Linked DNA regions of Homo sapiens: region 1 is linked to region 2. Evidence: promoter capture Hi-C in human tissues and cell types (Jung and others, 2019). All regions are on one chromosome and are shown on one strand. The core of a region is centred on a gene start or on the middle of the fragment in contact, and the rest is flanking DNA. Distances in the headings are between cores, read along the strand shown.

Region 1 (6,523 bases), core at 3,211-5,710, 160 kb before region 2:
AAGTGCTAGCATTATAGGCATGAGCCACCATGCCTGGCCAGCAGACTAGTTTTATTCTTTTGCATACTCTTATCCAGTCTCCCTCCCTCTCTCCCTCCTTCTCTCTCTCTCTCTGACTTCTCCTCTCCTCTCCTTTCCTTTCCTTTCTTTCCTTTCCTTCCTTTCCTTCCCTCCTTCTTTTTAGAGTCTTACTCTGTCACCCAGGCTGGAGTACAGTGGCGCAATCTTGGCTCACCGCAACCTCTGCCTCCCAAAAACCAAACGATTTCATGCCTCACTCAGCCTCCTGAGTAGCTGAGGCTACAGGTGTGTGCTACCACACTTGGCTAATTTTTGTACTTTTAGTAGAGACAGAGTTTCATCATGTAAACTCCCAACCTCAGGTGATCCTCCCATCTTGGCCTTCCAAAGTGCTGGGATTACAGGCATGAGCCACTGCACTCAACTGATTATCCAGTTTTTCCAGCACCATTTATAGAAGAGACTATCCTTTCTCCATTGCATATTTTTGACACCTTTGTCAAATATGTTTCTTGTAAATGTTGGATTTGTATCTGGGTTCTTTATTCTGTTCCATTAGCTTTTTCATTTTTTCAAGGTGTCTATTTCTTGACACTTGGCTTTGCAATATTTTTTCTTCAAATTTCAAAGTATTTTGTTTCAAACATGTTTTTTAAATATTAAAGGGGATGTACAGAAGGATAAGTTGCAAAGTCAAGAACAAGTGTGTTCCTGAAAATTTAGCCTGGCTTTGAATTTAAAAAGGGTTTAAAACAAAGTGAATGAACTAGCTTCTGAGTTTATGTTGGTTTATTCAACATTGAACACAATTTTAAAAGTCAAGACAAGTGAAGATCAAGATTCTGTGTTTTCTTGTTAAGCTTAAGGCATTTTGAGAGGGGTGTATGTTGATCAGCATAATTGCTATTAAGAACTGAGAGAACTTATAGAAAACTTATAATGGCCACAGGGAAATTCAAGATGGCCAAATAAGAACAGGAACAGTCTGCAGCTCCCAGCGAGATCGATGCAGAAGGTGGGTGATTTCTGCATTTCCAACTGAGGTACCCAGTTCATCTCATTGGGACTGGTTGGACAGTGGCTGCAGCCCATGGAGGGCAAACCTAAGTAGGGTGGGGCATCACCTCACCTGGGAAGCTCAAGGGGTTAGGGAATTTTGTCCCCAACCCAAGGGAAGCTGTGAGGGTCAGAGCCTGAAGAACTCCAGCACAGATACAGTGCTTGTCCCACAGTTTTCATAACCCACCAACCAGGAGATTCCCTCTGGTGACTACCCCACCAGGGCCCTGGGTTTCAAGCACAAAACTGGGTGGCCAATTGGGCAGACACCGAACTAGAGCTAGGTGCAGGATCTTTTCTTTCCATAACCCAGTGGTGCCTGGAATGCCAGTGAGACAGAACCGTTCACTCCCCTGGAAAGGGGGGCTGAAGCCAGGGAGCCAAGTGGTCTGACTCGGTGGGTCCCACCCCCACAGAGCCCAGGAAACTAAGATCCACTGGCTTGAAATTCTCACTGCCAGCACAGCAGCAATCTGAGATCCACCTGGGACGGTGGAGCTTGGTGTGAGGGAGGGGTGTCTGCCATTGCTGAGGCTTGAGTAGACAGTTTTACAGCAAGGGTAACAAAGCTGCTAGGAAGTTCGAACTGGGTGGAGCCCACTGCAGCTCAGCAAGGCTGCTGTGGCCCAACTGCCAGATTGCTCCCCTCTGGACAAGGCATCTCTGTAAAAAAGGCAGCAGCCCCAGTCAGGGGCTTATAGCAGACTTAAACGTCCCTACCTGATAGCTCTGAAGAGAGCAGCAGACCTCCCAGCACAGTGTTTGGGCTCTGCTAAGGGTCAGTCTGCCTCCTCAAGTGGGTCCCTGATCCCCATGTATACCAATTGGGAGACACCTCCCAGTTGGGGTGACAGTCACCTCATACAAGGAGAGCTCTGGCTGGCATCTGGCAGGTGACTGCTGGGTTGAAGCTTCCAGAGGAAAGAACAGGCAGCAATCTTTGCTGCTCTGCAGCTTCCACTAGTGATACCCAGGCAAACAGGGTAGGGAGTGGACCTCCAGCAAACTCCAGCAGGCTGGCAGAAAAGGGGCCTGACTGTTACAAGGAAAAGAAACAAAAAGAAAGGATTAGCATGTCCACTCAAAGACCCCATCTGAAGGTCACCAACATCAAAGACCAAAGGTAGATTAATCCACAAAGATGGGGAAAAAGCAGCACAAAAAGGCTGAAAATTCCAAAAACCAGAATGCCTCTTCTCCAAAGGATCAAAACTCCTTGCCAGCAAAGGAACAAAACTGGATGGAGAATGAGTTTGACAAATTGACAGAAGTAGGCTTCAGAAGGTGGGTAATAACAAACAACTCCGAGCTAAAGGAGTATGTTCTAACCCAATGCAAGGAAGCTAAGAACCTTGAAAAAAGTTAGTTGAATTGCTAACTAGAATAATCAATGTAGAGAAGAATGTAAATGACCTGATGGAGCTGAAAAACACAGCATGAGAACTTTGTGAAGAATACACAAGTATCAATAGCCGAATCAATCAAGCAGCAGAAAGGATATCAGTGACTGAAGATCAACATAATGAAATAAAGAGAGAAGATAAGATTAGAGAAAAAAGAATAAAAAGGAATAAACAAATCCTCCAAGAAATATGGGACTATGCTTCCAACCAAGTTGGAAAACACTCTTCAGGATATTATCCAGGAGAACTTCCCCAACCTAGCAAGACAGGCCAACATCCAAATCCAGGAAATACAGAGAACACCACAAAGATACTCCTCGAGAAGAACAACCCCAAGACACATAATTGTCAGATTCACCAAGGTTGAAATGAAGGAAAAAATGTTAAGGGCAGCCAGAGAGAAAGGTCGGGTTACCCACAAAGGGAAGCCCATCAGACTAACAGCAGATTTCTCTGCAGAAACCCTACAAGCCAGAAGAGAGTGGGGGCCAATATTCAACATTCTTAAAGAAAATAATTTTCAACCCAGAATTTCCTATCCAGCCAAACTAAGCTTCATAAGTGAAGGAGAAATAAAATCCTTTACAGACAAGCAAATACTGAGGGATTTTGTCACCACCAGACCTGCCTTACAAGAGCTCCTGAAAGAAGCAGTAAACATGGAAACGAACAACCAGTACCAGCCACTGCAAAAAATACCAAATTGTAAAGACCATCAATGCTGTGAAGAAACTGCATCAATTAACGGGCAAAATAACCAGCTAACATCATAATGACAGGATCAAATTCACACATAACAATATTAACCTTAAGTTGAATGGGCTAAATGCCCCAATTAAAAGACACAGACTGGCAAATTGGATAAAGAGTCAAGACCCATCAATGTGCTGTATTCAGGAGACCCATCTCACATGCAAAGACACACATAGGCTCACAATAAAGGGATAGAGGAATATTTACCAATCAAATGGAAAGCAAAAAAAAAAAAAAAAAAAAAAAAAGCAGGAGTCGCAATCCTAATCCTAATATCTGACAAAATAGACTTTAAACCAACAAAGATCAAAAGAGACAAAGAAGGACATTACATAATGGTAAAGGGAACAATGCAGCAAGAAGAGCTAACTATCCTAAATACATATGCACCCAATACAGGAGCACCAAGATTCATAAAGCAAGTTCTTAGAGACCTACAAAGAGACTTAGAGTCCCACACAATAATAGTGGGAGACTTTAACACCCCACTGTCAATATTAGACAGATCAATGAAAATTAACAAGGATATTCAGGACTTGAACTCAGCTCTGGATCAAGCAGATCTAACAGACATCTGCAGAACTCTCCACCTGAAATCAACAAAATATACATTCTTCTCAGCACCTCATAGCACTTATTCTAAAATTGACCACATAATTGGAAGTAAAACACTCTTTAGCAAATGCAAAAGAACAGAAATCATAACAGTCTCTCAGGCCACAGTGCAATCAAATTAGAACTCAGGATTAAGAAACCCATTCAAAACCACACAAATACATGGAAACTGAACAGTCTGCTCCTGAATGACTACTGGGTAAATAACAAAATGAAGGCAGAAATAAAGATGTTCTTTAAAACCAATGAGAATGAAGACACAATGTACCAGAATTTCTGGGACACATTTAAAACAGTGTTTAGAGGGAAATTTATAACATTAATGCCCACAAAAGAGAGCAGGAAAGATCTAAAATTGACACCCTAACATGAAAATTAAAAGAACTAGAGAAGCAACAGCAAAGAAATTCAAAAGCTAGCAGAAGACATGAAATAACTAAGATCAGAGCAGAACTGAAGGAGATACAGACATGAAAAACCGTTCAAAAAAAGATCAATGAATCCAGGAACTGTTTTTTTTTTTTTTTTTGAAAACAAAAAACAAAAAAAAAACCAACAAAATAGATAACCCGCTAGCCAGACTAATAAAGAAGAAAAGAGAGAAGAATCAAATAGACGCAATAAAAAATGACATAGGGGATATCACCACTGATCCCACAGAAATACAAACTACCATCAGAGAATACTATAAACACCTCTATGCAAATAAACTAGAAAATCTAGAAGAAATGGATAAATTCCTGGACACATACACCCTCCCAAGTCTAAGCCAAGAAGAAGTTGAATCCCCGAATAGACCAACAACAAGTTCTGAAATTGAGGCGGTAATTAATAGCCTACCAACCAAAAAAAGTCCAGGACCAGATGGATTCACAGCCAAATTTGAGGTATTGCTCTTCACACTTGGGGGCATTAGCTGCGGGGGTCTGCCTGCAGACCCTGACCCAAACGATGGATGAATAAAATGTACCCTGACACACAGATATTTTGTTTTGCCAGTTCAGCTGAGTGTCCAACTGCCTGCACATCAAGAGAGGTTTGTCACTGTGGCCGGCCCTGAGCAGTTCGCATTCCAGGCATTTATTTGGTATACAATTAACAACAGAAGCTTTGAGTAAACACACTTGCGGATAACTAACATGGTTAAGAGAGTAGTTCTAGGAATGATTAAAGCTCAGGTACCGGGGTCTAAAGTAACTACCATGAGGGGGCAATTTGCCTCTTAGACCTCTCCCCCACCGAGAGAGCCATCTGGCTCAAAGGTTAGTTAATGGAGGTAGGGTAAACACACTTAACTGGAGAAGCCTCTATTGTCCCTAATATTTACGCTATGACCTAATGCTCTAAGGTAAGAACAGGCTGCCTTTGCCCTGTTCAGTTATTACAAGCTATGTAACCTTTCGGCCTTCCAAAAGATTTGTGACTATTCCCTATAACTTTCCCTAATATTTCCCTTTAATATTTCTGCCACCATCCTGAGTGAATCCCAACACGAATTCTACCAGAGGTACAAAGAGGAGCTGGTACTATTTCTTCTGAAACTATTCCAAACAATAGAAAAAAAGGGACTCCTCCCTAACTCATTTTATGAGGACAGCATCATCCTGATACCAAAACCTGGTAGAGACACAACAAAAAAAGAAAATTTCAGGCCAACATCCCTGATGAACATCGATGTGAAAGTCCTCAATAAAATCCTGGCAAACTGAATCCAGCAGCACATCAAAAAGCATATCCAGCATGATCAAGTTGGCTTCATCCCTGCGATGTAAGGCTGGTTCAACATATGCAAATCAATAAATGTAATCCATCATACAAACAGAACCAATGACAAAAACCACATGGTTATCTCAATAGATGCAGAAAAGGCCTTTGACAAAATTCAACAGGGCTTCATGCTAAAAACTTTCAATAAACTAGGTATCAATGGAACATATCTCAAAATAGAGCTATTTATGACAAACCCACAGCCAATATCATACTGAATGGGCAAAAGCTAGAAGCATTCTCTTTGAAAACTGGCACAAGACAGGGATGCCCTCTCTCACCACTCCTATTCAACATAGTACTGGAAGTTCTGGCCAGGGCAATCAGGCAAGAGAAAGCAATAAGTGGTATTCAGAAAGGAAGAGAGAAAGTCAAATTGTCTCTGTTTGCAGATGACATGATTGTATATTTAGAAAACCCCATCATCTCAGCCCAAAACCTCCTTAAGCTGATAAGCAACTTCAGCAAAGTCTCAGGTTATAAAATCAATGTGCAAAAATCACAAGCATTCCTACACACCAATAACAGACAAACAGCCAAATCATGAGTGAACTCCCATTCACAATTGCTACTAAAAGAATAAAATACCTAGGAGTCCAACTTACAAGGGATGTGAAGGACCTCTTCAAGGAGAACTACATATCACTGCTGAATGAAATAAAAGAAGACACAAATAAATGGAAGAACATTCCATGCTCATGGGTAGGAAGAATCAATGTGGTGAAAATGGCCATACTGCCCAAAGTAATTTATAGATTCAATGCTATCCCCATCAAGCTACCACTGACTTTCTTCACAGAATTGGAAAAATACTATTTTAAACTTCATATGGAACCAAAAAGGAGTCTGCATAGCCAAGACAATCCTGGGCAAGAAGAACAAAGCTGGAGTCATCATGCTACCTG
Region 2 (6,252 bases), core at 1,720-4,219:
TCAATGACTTTCTGAAAATATGTTTTAAGGTAGAAAAAAAGTAATTTAATTGAAGATTTGTGGGAAGATTAAGTCAACATAAGAAAAGTCTAAATAATGAGGCAGTGGCACATGCCTATAATCCTGGCTACTCAGGAGGCTGAGGTGGGGGCATGACTTGAGCCCAGGAATTCAAGGATGCAGTGAGCTATGATAGCATCACTGCAGTCCAGCCTGGGCGACAGAGCAAGGCCCTGACTCTAAAAACTGAAAATAAAAAACTGAAAAAAAAATGTGTTGTGAACTTTGATGAGATGCATTCATATAAATCATCCCAAGTATAAAATTTCCCCCACTGATCTATGTTGAAGAGATAGTGTAGCTTTCTTTCACTTTGCAGACATAGACGGAGCACATGTTTCAGCTAGGCAACTCAATGTGGTCATCCTCCACCTGACTGTTCATCCTGTGACTCTTACTGCTATAGTTGCCACCAGAGAATGTGAAAAAGCTCAGAGGAGAAAGAAGAGAGGAAGAATGGGCAATGTGTCTGTGTTGAGTGTGTGTGTCTATGCCTGTGGATGAGAGTGTGTGTCTATTCTTTTCCAAGGAATTCAAAGTGGTTTGTAAAATAACACTCAATTGAATACAGTTCAAGTTACAGAAAAGAGAGTCAGAGTTTGGGTGTATACCCCAAGGTGGAACTTTAGGAACAAGTAGGTAATAAGCATCAATTTCTTTATTCTTTTAGTATGTGTGTCATTTGATGGATGAACTATACAAATGTTTCTGAGAGATTAGTAGCAGCCCTCAAGCACTTTTCTCTGTCCTCAGTGTTCACAGAGACCAAATGATCACATGAAGTAACTCTATCAAAGACTAATCTGTTCTTTCCATTTTAGGGCCACAAATAGGTCTCTTTATACACATCACAGGGGCATATCAAAGTCATATTTTAAAAATCAGAATGGATTAAAATTGACAAACATTTTTCATGATGGTAAAAGAAATCACAGATCCATCAATGATTTTGATTCTTAAGAATATTCTTGATTATTTTTTAAAAGACTATGAGTTTTTAAAACTGTTCTCTGAAATAGAATTATGTAGGTACAGAAACATTCATTTTTAAAAAGTCATAAATATTAGGGCAAAATTAAAAATCTGGAAAAGCAAACAGTCGCATTTTTTACTATTAGCTCAAATACACACGTTCACATTCACCTACCTACACATACCTCTGACTCAGTCCACCTTTTTGACAAGCAATGATGCAAAAATGAATCAAGAGAGAGAACTACCAGCATTTAGAGTATTGATTATCCTAACCCATCACTCATGAACAAGCACCAAACTGACATTTGGGGTTTACCTACCTACATAGAGAACACCCTCTTTTGTCTTTCCTGCTGCTTCTGCCACACCCTGTTTGGTTTTCTCAGCAGCAGCCACAACTCCCTCCTTGGCCTTTGAAAGTCCTTTCATGAATACATCCATGGCTAATGAATTCCTTTACACCACACTGGAAAACATAAAATACACTTTGAATGAGAACTTTCGGGGAAAAATAAACAAAAAACACTGAAAAATCATGAGAAACCCTCCAAAGTGTGAGACTCTTTTAAGTGTACACTCATTTAACCATTGGACAAAGCAGACATTTTTAGCTCTGGCATTAAAAATTTAGCATCTCCCATCCATCTTGGCTAGTAAAAGTCTAGCCACCTAACCACGGATTAGGATGAATCCTCTGAGTTGTTATTACTGCATTTCAGAAGTGGAGTTGCATGAAAAGATTAACCCCTTTTTTAAATTCCCGGGGTCTAAAGGGTAACAGTATGAGTTAGAAGCATGGAAGCTGGAGGCTTAGGGTCAGGGGTATCCTTAACATGAATCCCAGAAGAAGGCTAACAGGTTGATGGTGGAAAGGCGTAGGCAACAGAACTAACTGCTCACTCGGGGTGTGGTTCAAACTCAGGCAAACAGCAGGCCCAAGTGTGATGGTTCTAATCCATCCAACATCCACCCCCGCCCTCAGCTATCTACCCTGAGCAGGCGCCGCTCACACTCGCGGGCCGTCTCCAACCCCGCGCCAGCCACCCGAGGGGGCGTTCTCAGCCTCCACCCTAGCGGACCCCGCGCCAGCACTTGTTAACCCGTTACCACCTGTTGACTTGGCCTCCTTGCACTTCCATTTCATTATTTGCCAAACGCAGCTTGCTTACTTTACAGAGAAAAACCAAGAGAGCGGGCAGACAGATTTTATGTGAGAGAAAAGTTGGATGCTCACGCTCCATGGAGCATCCTCGCGTTTCCCGGGGAAAAGCGGATCCCGGAGAAGCAGCCTAATCTCTCAGCCCTTGTGGAGAAGGGAATATCAGAAGCAGGACGAAAGCCAGGTCAAGTCTCTTTCCTTAGGCTCCCCAAAGGGACAAGTACTCACCTCCCAGAGACCTGGCCCAGCGGGTCCTCATGGCAGCACCACCCCCTCCCGGTGCCCACGACCATTCGTCTCCCATCCGGCGTTCTCCAGGATTTCCAAAGACGCCCGTTTAGATCCACAGGTACTTACCTGAGTCCCTCTGCTTCTCCACAACTCCGACTCCTCCCCGCCTCTCTCTTTTTTTAAAAAAAAAATTTAAACAATTCCCAAATAATATTTAATAGGAAAGAAGAAGGAAAAGGAGCGCACAGGAAGGGCGGAGGCGGCACCCGGGGGGGACTGTCCCCAGAGGAGGCCGCTGTGAGCCGGCGACGCGAGGCTGGGGGAGTGGGAGGCAAACCCGCTAACCTGTCGTCGAATGGCCACTCCCAGTTCTCCGCTCACGAGGGTGGAAAGGCAGAAGGCTTGAAGGCAAGGCGTGAGGGAGCGCCCAGGACGCTCTCGGAGGGGCCGGGCCGGGGTCTGCGCTGCAGCCCGCACGCACCTCACTTCCGCGTCGCGGCGCTCGGTCGCTCGCCCCCTCTCTTGGGCCCCTTCTGGTCGTCGCCGTCCTCCTCCTCCTAGTCCTCCTCCTTCTCCTTCTCCTCGGCTCTCCGCCCCCACCGCTGATTTGTCAGCGCTTCTGCCCGCCCCTCTCCCGGCGCTCGCTGCTTTCCCTGCAGCGTGCTCCTCGTCCCTATCTCGGATGGGGATGGGGCAGGGGGCGCGGGGTGAGCCATCAACTCCAGCCGCCTGCCTGGCCGCGCAAGGCGGGAAAGTGGGGGCGCTTTTGCGCCTCACGTTAAGTTTAGGGTCACGAGCACTCTTGTGGAGATCGGGAGCGGTTGGGCTAGGGATGATGCCTCTTCCTCTTTCCCCTTCCCCTCCCTTCTTGTCCCCGCCTTTCCTCTGGGTCCTCCCGGGGACCACCCCCTACCCCTCGTCAGAGTCGCCCTGGGAGAGCCGAGGGCCTGAGGGTCGACCACCAAGGGCAGAGCCTATCCCTTGGGGAGCTGCTGGAGGAGACAGGCAGCGCCGGGAGGTGGCTCACACCGCACCGCCGAGAGCGCTTTGCCCTCGCATCGCTGAAATTTAATCACGGTCACAGGTTACAACGTTAGGGGTCGCTTTAGTTCAAATATCTTCAAGGTTTTCGTTTGCTCTTAATCTAGGAAGAGCCGGAAAGGGTCCTGAGGGTGAAAGGGAGACTACTAAGGAAGAGTCACAGGTTGAGGAGGCAGGAGAAGGCTCAGCAAATCCTCTTTCCACGCCACTATCACCATTTTCCTTTCCACCAATCAGCGCCTGCCAGACGCTGATTTTCCCATCAGTGGAACAAGGAATAAATATTCCCCAGCCGTCTAAAACAAGCGGTCCTAAGGCTTTTCGCTCTAGAAATGGGACTTACTTTGCAGACCTCCCTTTATCTGGGAGACAAATCCAGCGTGATTTAGCCTACCGGACCATCATATCCAATTTCTTCTTCAGCCCCTTCTGAAAGGGAGATGCTACACACCACTCACCTTTCTGACTTCTGATTCTCGTTGCCCTCAGAATTGACACCCCCTTTTCTCTCCCCCCACCCACCACACGCACATGCACACAGACATACACACGCGAACTTCAAGACAATTTTTGCATCGCTTAACACATTTTCACCTCTTTCAGAGCTGGAAGACAGCTGTTCCTGGATCACACCAGAATGGAGAAGCAAGCTCCTCCCACTAGCAGAAAGCCTTTGCTTTCTGTGCCTGGATTCGGAAGATTAGTTAAGCACTGGAAGAGGAGGGGGGAAACAACAACTCGTTTTTGCTGTATGTTTTTTTTTTAATTGTTTTTATATTTATAGAAAGTTATGCTTTGTCTGATTCTTGCGCTAATTTGGGTTCTGAAATTTGAGTAAAATCAAATTTAAACATACAAAACAACTTTAAAACCACAAGGAACAGGAAGCAAATGATTATACATAAAAGACATATAGAAGATAATGCATATGTGTTCAGTGGAAAATAGAAAAGCATGAAAGTAAGATCACAAATATTTATTATTTAAACTCTTCCTTGAACTATTGGTCTGCCCTTTGGAAAAGCAGACTTTCCTTAATGCAGTAGCTCATATTAATATTTTTTGTTTGCTTAGGACCAGAGCAAGAAGGTTGGACTTGGGAGCTAGTTTGCTGTCTGGCTTTGAGACCTTGAACAAGTTTTGTTCTCCTTCTGTTTCCAGTTTTCTTTTTTGTAAATTAGGAGATTAACTCATGTGATCACTCTATTTTCAACTTTTTGTTATGGGAAATATTCAAACATATGCAAAAGTAGACAGAATAAAGGACTCTCATGTGAAGATCATCCAACTTTTACATTTTTTCAATGCATGGCTGATCATGTCTCATCCATAAGTCCACTCACTTTATCACTACCAATCCTCCCTCTTTTTTTTTTTTTTTTACCAAATTCAAGCTTTATATATATCTTTTCAGCTGTAAACATTCAGTATGCATCCACAAAATTTAAGGACTGTTTAAAAATAACCACAATATCATTAGATGATTCTTTAAAATTGCAGTGTAATTTACACCTAGGGAAATGCTCAGATGTTGTGTCCCTTTAAATCAGTTTTGAAAAAGCCATGCATTAGTGTAACCCACACTATTTTGAAGACACAGGACATTTTCATCATTCCAGACAGTTACCTTGTACCTTCATGTGCATATTCTAGAATGTCATAAAGATCTAATCACGTAGTATAAACTTTGTTTTATATTTGTCTGACTTCTTTTACTCAGTATAATATTTGTGAGGTTCGTTCATGTCGTTGCATGAATGGGTGTTTTGTTTTTTATTGCTTTTTGTTGTTTCTTTTTACTACTGTTAATAGTATAAGTTTTCCATTGTGCCTCTTTACAACTAGTATCTCAATAGAGTATTACAACAATTATTTAATATATTATTTCACATGACATATTTATAGTATAACCATGACCTCCTTGAGACCTAGTGCTTTAAGTCAAAGAGGTAAATAAAATGAGATATTTTAGGTCTCATTACAACAGACCAATGTGAGAGAATTATTTCTGGACAGTTGCACTTCTTATAAACGTTTAACATGATTCCAAACTTTTATTTGGTAATTTGTTAGTCCTTTGGCAAAGGACTAATGTACTATGTTATTTAGTCATAACAAGCAGATCAATTACATTTTATGTAACTTTTATAGACAGAGAAACTGAGCTCCAAGAGTTTTGGTGATATGCTGAGATCACCTAGCTATTTTAAGTGGCAGAGCTGAGACAATTTAGCAGAAACTGTTACAGAAGGCACAATTGTCTCCTGAATTAGCAGTTTGTGTCTGAAGCCTCACAGATTGGGTGTGGTAAAGAGTGAGAAGGAAAAAGGTAGAACCCAGCTGTGTTAGAAATAGCCTTCAAATTTGGATGTGACAATGGAAATCAAGAAGAACTTATGTTATTATGAAACAGTTCATTCATATTTAAAGTTTTGCCTTTTCTATATTGGTATTCCTCAATAGGGGGAGATGATTTCTTACTACCTACAAAAAAAGAAAACTGTAAACTAATTTCGTTGTCATTTTGAATTACAACTATATGTTTAACTCTTGTCACTCCTTAAAATGCCTTGAACACAGTAAACATCCAATGAACTTTTAATTACACATAATATTGATAGTGATATTGCATATGTTCTAGGTCTGTATTCTTAAGGAGGGAAAGCTGCTCAAGTACAAAGAAGGGAACTAGAAGTTAAAATAAAGTTTTTTTAATTTTTCTTTTCATTATTGATGGACAGCATGGTCTTCAGTAAATCTTTAGCCTCTCTGAATATAACGTTAAA

What was found. The method cuts DNA at HindIII sites, captures the fragments that hold promoters and counts their contacts. A contact is called where the count stands out against the background at its distance.
Region 1: a fragment that was not itself captured here is called in contact with the fragment with the promoter of SNCA in region 2 in 4 of the 25 tissues and cell types used here (H1 embryonic stem cells, aorta, heart right ventricle and 1 more).

What each region holds. Positions count from the first base shown.
Region 1 is chr4:89,670,157-89,676,679 of GRCh38, forward strand. No RefSeq gene overlaps it. Among named protein-coding and RNA genes, the nearest start is that of SNCA-AS1, 160 kb to the right of the region's middle. The HindIII fragment of the contact is 6,049 bases long and covers 1,437-6,523 here.
Region 2 is chr4:89,834,192-89,840,443 of GRCh38, forward strand. SNCA (synuclein alpha) reads right to left here and starts at 2,970. Exons shown (of 6, transcript NM_000345.4): 1 at 2,771-2,970; 2 at 1,356-1,501. The coding sequence starts at 1,476. It overlaps SNCA-AS1 (SNCA antisense RNA 1), which reads left to right and starts at 2,210. Exons shown (of 4, transcript NR_045481.1): 1 at 2,210-2,543; 2 at 4,070-4,215. The HindIII fragment of the contact is 14,325 bases long and covers 1-6,252 here.